Linked DNA regions of Homo sapiens: region 2 is linked to region 1. The links are contacts of gene promoters, found by promoter capture Hi-C in human tissues and cell types (Jung and others, 2019). All regions are on one chromosome and are shown on one strand. The core of a region is centred on a gene start or on the middle of the fragment in contact, and the rest is flanking DNA. Distances in the headings are between cores, read along the strand shown.

Region 1 (3,793 bases), core at 586-3,085:
CTCCCCCTTGCTAGTGACTCAGACCTGCCTTCACCTCCCCAACCCGTGGCTGGGGGTGGCAGAGTCAAGATGGGAAATAATGTGCACCAAAGCCCGCCCAGCACACGCCCCTACCGGCTGGCCGCTGGAACTAGCAGAACCAGTCGGGCACTGTGACTGCACCAGAGCCCTACCTGGACCTGGCTGCCCTGGCCCTCCGGCCTGGCCTGTGTGGGGGCACCAGCCTCTGGGAGGGGACTCTCGGTGTGGGCCCAGCGGCCCTGCCTGGACCTTTCTCACAGAAGGTGGGCATTCTCTGCACACCCCTGCAGGGGCTGGGGGGAAGGGCGGGGCCAGAAACATGGGGAGGCACCTTGATTTTCCTTCTCTGGAGTTTGAGGGGACAAGGTGAGGCTGCCCAAGCACAGAGAAGGGAGGAGGAAAGGAAGAAGCCTGCCCAAGCGCAGAGAAGGGAGGAGGAAAGGAAGAAGCCTGCCCAAGCGCAGAGAAGGGAGGAGGAAAGGAAGGAACGCGGGAACGCGGGAGGGAGCAGCTGGGAGCGCTGCCAGCAGTGTTACAAGCAAAGGGTTTTATCGAACACGATATGCCCAGAAATAAAAGGGAGTGTAACAGAAACCCAGCGGCCGATAAGGCGGTGGCGGTAGCAGCAGCAGCCCTGGGCAGCTGGGTATGGAATTACTGCAGTGACCTTGAGCCAGACCCTGTCAGGTGGAGGGAAGGGCACAGAGAGGGCAGGGCCTGAGAATTCAGAGATGACGAGAGGGCAGAGGAGGGAGGAAGCTGAGGGGATGGGAGCAGGGCCAGCAGGCGGTGGGATGGGCCACGGGGCACGGAGTATCAGCTCTCTCCTGCATACAGGGTCCCAAGGAGAACTGCGCAGTAGGGAGGGGCTGCTCTTCTCAGGGCCTGCAGGATGGGGGGATCTGGAGAGTTTCCCAAAAGTCAGGACCGAAAAATGCAGATCGCTCATCCCCAGCAAGGGTTTCGGAGAGATGGAGAGAACCCAGATCTGTCCAGTCACACGTGCATGAGTTTGCGTAAAGTCTGTGCACCCACCAGCCCAGCCCACACCCTCTTCCCGTCCTCTGCTAAGGTGGGCTCCAGCCCCTGCCTCCAAGTCAGATCCAGCCTGAGCAGTGGGGAATGACAGTGCCCTTCTTGATGCTGTAAGGGACAGGGGGTGAGCTTGAACTCTAAGCTTCTGGCCACTGTAATAGCTGCATCCCGGGAGCACAGAAGATGGGGGAGGGGGGACTGCCCTGAGGCTAGAGGTGTGCATGAGGGGCTGAAGAAGAGGAAACAGCAGAGATGTGCAGAAGGAGTCTGTGGGGAATGCCACCAAAGATGCTAAGATGCCACCAAAGATGCTAAGTCCCAGGATGGTTGGGGAGGGGGCCCTGAGTCCCTTTTTGGGGGCGGCAGGGAGGGAGGGGTGGCAGGAAAGAAGCCTTTAGGTCCTCTACAGCTCAGCCTTCTCCCTCGCACCTGGAAAAGAGACTAAGCCCCAGAACCACTGTTTGCTCCCCACCAACCCCCGCCTTCCATGCCGCCACTGCCAGGGAGGGGGCCAGGGAGGAAGCTTACCTCCAGTGCGGGCTCCCTCGGCCCCAGCCCCAGCCCGAGTAGCCTCTGCGGTGACCCTCCGACCTGTGCAGCAGCGGGACGGCACAGCCTCGGGAGCGTCTCCAGAGCCATCCACCATGGACCCTCGTCCCAGAGACCCACCTGCTCCCAGGAGGTGCAGACCCCTCAGAGGGGCAGCGGCAGGGTCCCTGGAATGGGTAGCAGCTCTTCCCGCGTGCGTTTGCCTCCTAGCCAGCGCCAGGCAGCACTCCGAGGAAAGTTGCTCAGCTGGCCCGGCAGGTCTGCCTCAGCAGTAACAGGACACAGGAGGAAGTGCAGGGCAGGTTAACCCCTTCCTGCTGGCCAGGCAAGTGGTGCATTGAGAGGTGGGGGGCCTGCCTGTTGGCCGCCCCCAGGAAGTGCACATCTGGAGCCAGTGCTGGCGACCTGATCCCCTCTGCTTTGAGTTAACCCTTCCCCTGCCTCTTCAACAGGAAAGGAGGGGGGCTCCAACACCCCCACCACACCCCTCCCCTTCCTCCTCTGGGCCGGGAGGACATTAAAGGAGAGGGCAGGGACATTCCCTGGGGCTGGCTCTTTGGTGGAGCCCCCGTCTTCTCGTCTTCTTGGGGAGGAGAGCATCAGGACTCCAGCACAGCCCCCTCCCTGCCTTTCCCACACGGAGTCAGATCCTTCTGTCCATCCTCCCCCTCCTGCATCTCAGCTGGAGGATGCCTGAGGCCCACTTAAGGATGCCCACCCACCCAAAAACCAAAGTTGTTCTTCAAACTCTGGGAGCCTGGAGTGCTCTTCACACAGGGAGCCCAGCCCCAAATGGTTATGACTGACAGAAGACAATGAGGGGCCTGAGTTTGAGCTGACAATACCTTTTTTTCTGAGAGCCATTTCTAGCCTGTTTCATGTTCCCCTGAGCAAGGGAGGTAGCATGAAGATCAGCAGCTGTTTTTAAGGCAGAAAGATGGCTCAAGGCCAGATAGTTTGAGATGAGGAGGGGGATAAGGCAGACTAGACCCCGAAATAACAAGGTGATGTGGCCTCTAGAGCTGAAGAGGTGTGGTGAGCATGATCTTCAGGGACTGAATTGGGGCCCTGGGACCCAGCTGAAGAGGGGAGATGGCAGGGAGCCAGGTCCCATGGGTCTAGTTCTACTCCTCATCTCACACTTTGTCATACTTGGTGATGACACTTCGGGAAGACCTGGCTCCAGGAAGCACGACCCTGAAAGTGTGGGCCAAGGAAGCCAGAGGCAGGGACTACCAGAGGTGACACACTGTCCTGTCACCTGACTCCTTGTCTTGCTACCAATCTGCTCCTCTGCTTGGCATCCCACACATCACTTCCCCAGCTATGTCTGTCTGTCCTCCTGCAGGAGGGCTCTGGCAGCTGGCAGGAGGGGATCTGAGGGCAGGTGGAACATGGGAGGACCTGGATCAGGAGCTGACCTAGCCAAGATCCATCATGCAAGACACAGAGGCACACGGAAGTAGTAGAAACTTGAAGGTTCTTTATTGATTTATTTATTAACCCGTTTTCCAGAAGGTTGCTTGGGCCCGAGAGTCACCTGCAGAGGCGCAAAGCCTCCTCGACATTCTTTATGGGGCTGAGCTCATCAGCCAGGACCATCAGGTCAGTCACCAGGGTGTCCAGCAGCCCACGGACCTGGAAGAACGGGACAACATCACAGGCAGAGTTTACTCTGTGGGAAGCACCTATATATGAACTATGCTGTGAGAGAATAGCTGGAGAGGGGAAAGAAACCAGTTGTTTGTGAAAGAATTTCACAAGTTCAAAGTTCTTGTGAAATAATTTTTGGTTTTGCAGATTTTTTTTTTTTTTGACAGGATCTCACTCTGTCACCCAGGCTGGAGTCCAGTGGTGTGATCATGGCTCACTGCAGCCTTGACTTCCCTGGCTCAGGTGATTCTCCCATCTCAGCCTCCCAAGTAGCTGGGACTACAGGCGTGCACCACCAGACCTGGCTACTTTTTTCTATTTTTTGTAGAGATGGGGTTTCACCACATTGCCCAGGCTAGTCTCGAACTCCTGGGCTCAAGCAATCCACCTGCTTTTGCAGTTTTACTTTTCAAACCAGTCTGGGGAGGTGGCCCTGCGCTGGTACCTTTGACATATGGAGATACTAGAGCTAAGTTGTTCAAGGGGCAACTCCAGGGAGCCCATGGAGCGGTGCCCATTTAGCCGTTTGGGGTGG
Region 2 (3,793 bases), core at 840-3,339, 620 kb before region 1:
GGGATAGGCAGGTAGAGGAATGAAACAGCAGTGAATCACTTGCCTACAGCGTCATCCGTCTCAAGCGGATTATCCCATAAAGCTGGTTTAAATCTGTCAGGTCAGCTCCAGGTCTCCCTCTGGTAAAAACCCAATTCCTCCCCAGTCCCCTGATCTATGAACTAATATGTCAATGTGGGAAAGGATCCAAAAGCAAGGACTATAATTTCTATCCCATTTGATTTATTTTATTTTCATTTGTTTTGGTTTTTGTGGGGTTTTTTTAGAGATGGGGTTTCGCTATGTTGCCCACGCTGGTCTCGAACTCTTGTCCTCAAGTGATCTGCCCACCTCAGCCTACCAAAGTGCTGGGATTATGGCCATGAGCCACCACACCCAGCCCCATTTGATTTTTTTTTTTTTTTTTGGTATGGAGTCTTGCTCTTTCGCCCAGGATGGAGTGCAGTGGTGCGACCTTGGCTCACTGCAACCTCCACTTCCCAGGCAAGCAATTCTCCTACCTCAACCTCCTAAATAGCTGGGACTACAGGTGCGTGCCACCACACCCAGCTAATTTCTGTATTTTTTTTTACTAGAGATGGGGTTTCACCATGTTGGCCAGGCTGGTCTCCAACTCCTGACCTCAAGTAATCTGCCCACCTCAGCCTCCCAAAGTGCTGGGATTAAAGGCGTGAGCCCCATGAGCCTGGCCACCATTTGATTTAATAAGCTTCTTTTAAACATCTACTGTGTACCAAACACTGCGGTGGAACTAGGATACAGGATGTTAAAAACAAGGCACTATCTTTCTCAATAATCAAGCTTGGGAGAAACTACACTGATGAAAAGTTTTACTAATGTGAAAGTGATGTCCGGTACAAAGCAGTAAGAAATAATAGTTTGACTTAATGCCACAGCCATAGCATTAGGGGTTTTAGAGAATATATCTTTACAACCCCCTTCATTTTACAAATGAGGAAACAGGACCACAGCACCAGAATGAAGGCCAAAACCCAGCATTCCCAACCCATTAATCCATTCTTGTAATGTTATGCTACACTTTACAATGCAAAGAATATTTTGACTAGCCAATAAACGGTGGGGTGTGGGAGAACTACAGACATTAGGAATATCTGATACGGGACATCATACTGAAAGGAAGCCTAGAGAGTAACTATTCCGTCCAGATCCCTCATTTTACAGAAGACTGCGCTCATGACCTACCCTGTATCACAGCTTGAGATAGGAGGCCCCTCGCCTTGAAAGACGATCCCTAAAGTAGACAGTAGCACCATCTCTTGGCCCCATCTTCCTGTCCTTTAGTTAACCTCTTCTTACAGCATCTTAGCACTGTAGTCCAATTTTCTGTTTGTGTGTCTGCCTCCCCTGCACACCAGGCTGACTTAGTCCTGTGTAGAGACTCTATGGTACCTAGCCACAGGGCCTAGCAGTCAATAGGAGCAAAGAAAATCATTTATCACCATTCTGCAACTTCCAAAAAAAAAAAAAGAGAGAGAGACAAAGCCCAAAGACTGCGGAGAATCGCACGATGGGGTGCGGGGCAAGCATAAATTGTCCAGGAGAAAACAGGACTAAAGCGCCAGAAATACACCCTAAAAATGTCCCTCCACATCGGTCCCGGTGACACAACAGTAAGCACTCAGTGCTTGCTGAATGAATGACACACACACCCGTCATTTATTCAGCAAGCACTTACAGAGCGCCAACTCCGTGCCCGGCACTGCTCTCGACAGACACAAATAAGGCACAGCCCTGTCGTCGCGGCCTGACGAGAAAGGCGGCCACCGACAAAGGCGAGTCCACGTGGCGTGGGACGTGCGCCGACCGGTCTGCACTTGTCCACAGGCGCTCCCTGCCCCTCCTCCCATCCGATCCTCCTCGCCGCCTCTTAGAGCTGAACTCATCTCTTCACTAACTCCTCACCTAACCCACTCCCGCGACTACACTCCTTTCTTTTTCCTCTCAGGATCCCGAACACCTCTTACCCTTCCAGCTGCTTAGGTTTGAACTCCGGCTGCAGCCGCCAGCACCCGAAACGCGCCCGGGACCCACGTGGTTCGCAGCACTTGCACGCACGGAACGCTTCTGCGCAGATCCGCTGCCGGAGAGCCCATTTTGCAGAACACCGCTCGCCCACGCTTCCTCTTGGGAGTAGGCAGTCATTCTAGGGAACAACTTTCTGCAGTTTAACTTCCGGCGCTAGCTTTTTCAGACCTTTCCGGTTAGCTGCTTGCTTTCTTCTCTCCACCCCCGGGTTCTCTGACTCACTTCCTTCGTTCGCGAGCAAATTGGCTTCCCGAGAGGTGGCGCTCACACGTTGCGTGAAGTCCAAAGAGTGCCTGACCTAGAAGTAGACTTTTCGCTCCCGCTTTGTGTTTATTCACCTTTTCTAGCCTGTCAAGCAAAAAATTTTGAGTACCTACTACGTGGACGCATTATTCTAGGCCCTAGGGATAAAACAGTATGCTCTCTTGGAGCTTCTGGGAGGGATGGGAGTATAGGAAAACAAGAAGCAAATAAGCAAATTAATATGTAATAGATCGCATTTTGTAAGTGCTGTGAAGAAAAGGCCAGAGAAATCTCTGAGTAAGTGATAATAGAATAGACCTGCATGAAGTGAGGGAGCCAGCCCAGTGATTCTTCGAGAGCCAAGTATTACGGTGGACATCGAGTGGTGGAAAATGCCGTTAGAATAGAGCCAAATCTTATGTTGTGAGATGCTAATACAGATTTTGCACAAGGCATGACATCATCACTAACAAAAAAACATTCCCACTGCTCTAAGGGGAAATGAACGGGGGAAAGGTACAAAAATGGAATCAGGAGCCGTTTCAACAAATGATGCTGGAGCAATTGGACGAATATAGACCCAAAGAACCTCAACCTAAACCTCTCACCTTATACAAAATTTACTCAAAATGAATCATAGATTTAAATGTAAAACAATAAATCACTTATGGGGAAAAAAAAAGTTAAAAAAAATCCTCAGGACCTAGGGCCAGGCAAATAGTTTTTAGACGACACCAAAAGACCAATCTATACAGGGAAAAAGTTGATAAATTGGAACTTACTGAAATTTAAAACTTTTGGCCGAGCGCGGTGGCTCACGCCTGTAATCCCAGCACGCTGGAAAGCAGCGGCGGGAGGATCACTTGAGCTCAGGAATTCGAGACCAGCCCGGGCAACATAGTGAAACCCCGTCTCTACTAAACATACAAAAATGAGCCGGGCGTGGTTGCAGGCGCCTGTAGTCCCAGCTACTCGGGAGGCTGAGGCAGGAGAATCGCTTGAACCCGGGAGGCAGAGGTTGCAGTGAGCCGAGATTGCGCCAGGGCACTCCAGCCTGGGTGACAGAGCGAGACTCGGTCTCAAAAAAATAAAAAATAAATAAAATAAATAAGTAAAATTTCATTATTCTCCTGTTTTCTTTTTTTTCTTTTTGAGACCGAGTATCGCTTTGGCGCCCAGGCCGGAGCGCAGTTGCACGATGTCGGTTCATTGCAAACTCCGCCATCCGGGTTCAAGCGATTCTCGTGACTCAGCTTCCCGCGTAGCTGGGACTACAGGCGTCTGCCACCACGCCCGGTATTTTCTTTTTCTTTTTTTTTTTTTTTTTTTGAGACGGAGCCTTGCCAGGTCGCCCAGGGTGGAGTGCAGTGGTGCGATCTCGGCTCACTGCAACCTCCGCCTCCCGGGTTCAAGCGAATCTCCTGCCCCAGCCTCCCGAGCAGCTGGGATTACAGGTGCCCACCACCACACCCGGCTACTTTTTGTATTTTTAGGAGAGACGGGG

What was found. The method cuts DNA at HindIII sites, captures the fragments that hold promoters and counts their contacts. A contact is called where the count stands out against the background at its distance.
Region 2: a contact is called between the fragment with the promoter of NME1 here and the fragment with the promoter of EPN3 in region 1, in 1 of the 25 tissues and cell types used here (heart right ventricle).

What each region holds. Positions count from the first base shown.
Region 1 is chr17:50,530,777-50,534,569 of GRCh38, reverse strand. EPN3 (epsin 3) reads right to left here and starts at 1,835. Exons shown (of 10, transcript NM_017957.3): 1 at 1,585-1,835. It overlaps MYCBPAP (MYCBP associated protein), which reads right to left. Exons shown (of 19, transcript NM_032133.6): 19 at 3,069-3,243. The coding sequence ends at 3,142. RefSeq lists enhancers at 1-292, 293-969. The HindIII fragment of the contact is 9,890 bases long and covers 1,390-3,793 here.
Region 2 is chr17:51,151,855-51,155,647 of GRCh38, reverse strand. It overlaps NME1 (NME/NM23 nucleoside diphosphate kinase 1), which reads right to left and starts at 2,089. Exons shown (of 5, transcript NM_000269.3): 1 at 1,986-2,089. It overlaps NME1-NME2 (NME1-NME2 readthrough), which reads right to left and starts at 2,089. Exons shown (of 9, transcript NR_037149.2): 1 at 1,986-2,089; 2 at 1,204-1,423. RefSeq lists enhancers at 1-422, 1,819-2,238, 2,022-2,553, 1,577-2,776. The HindIII fragment of the contact is 32,954 bases long and covers 1-3,793 here.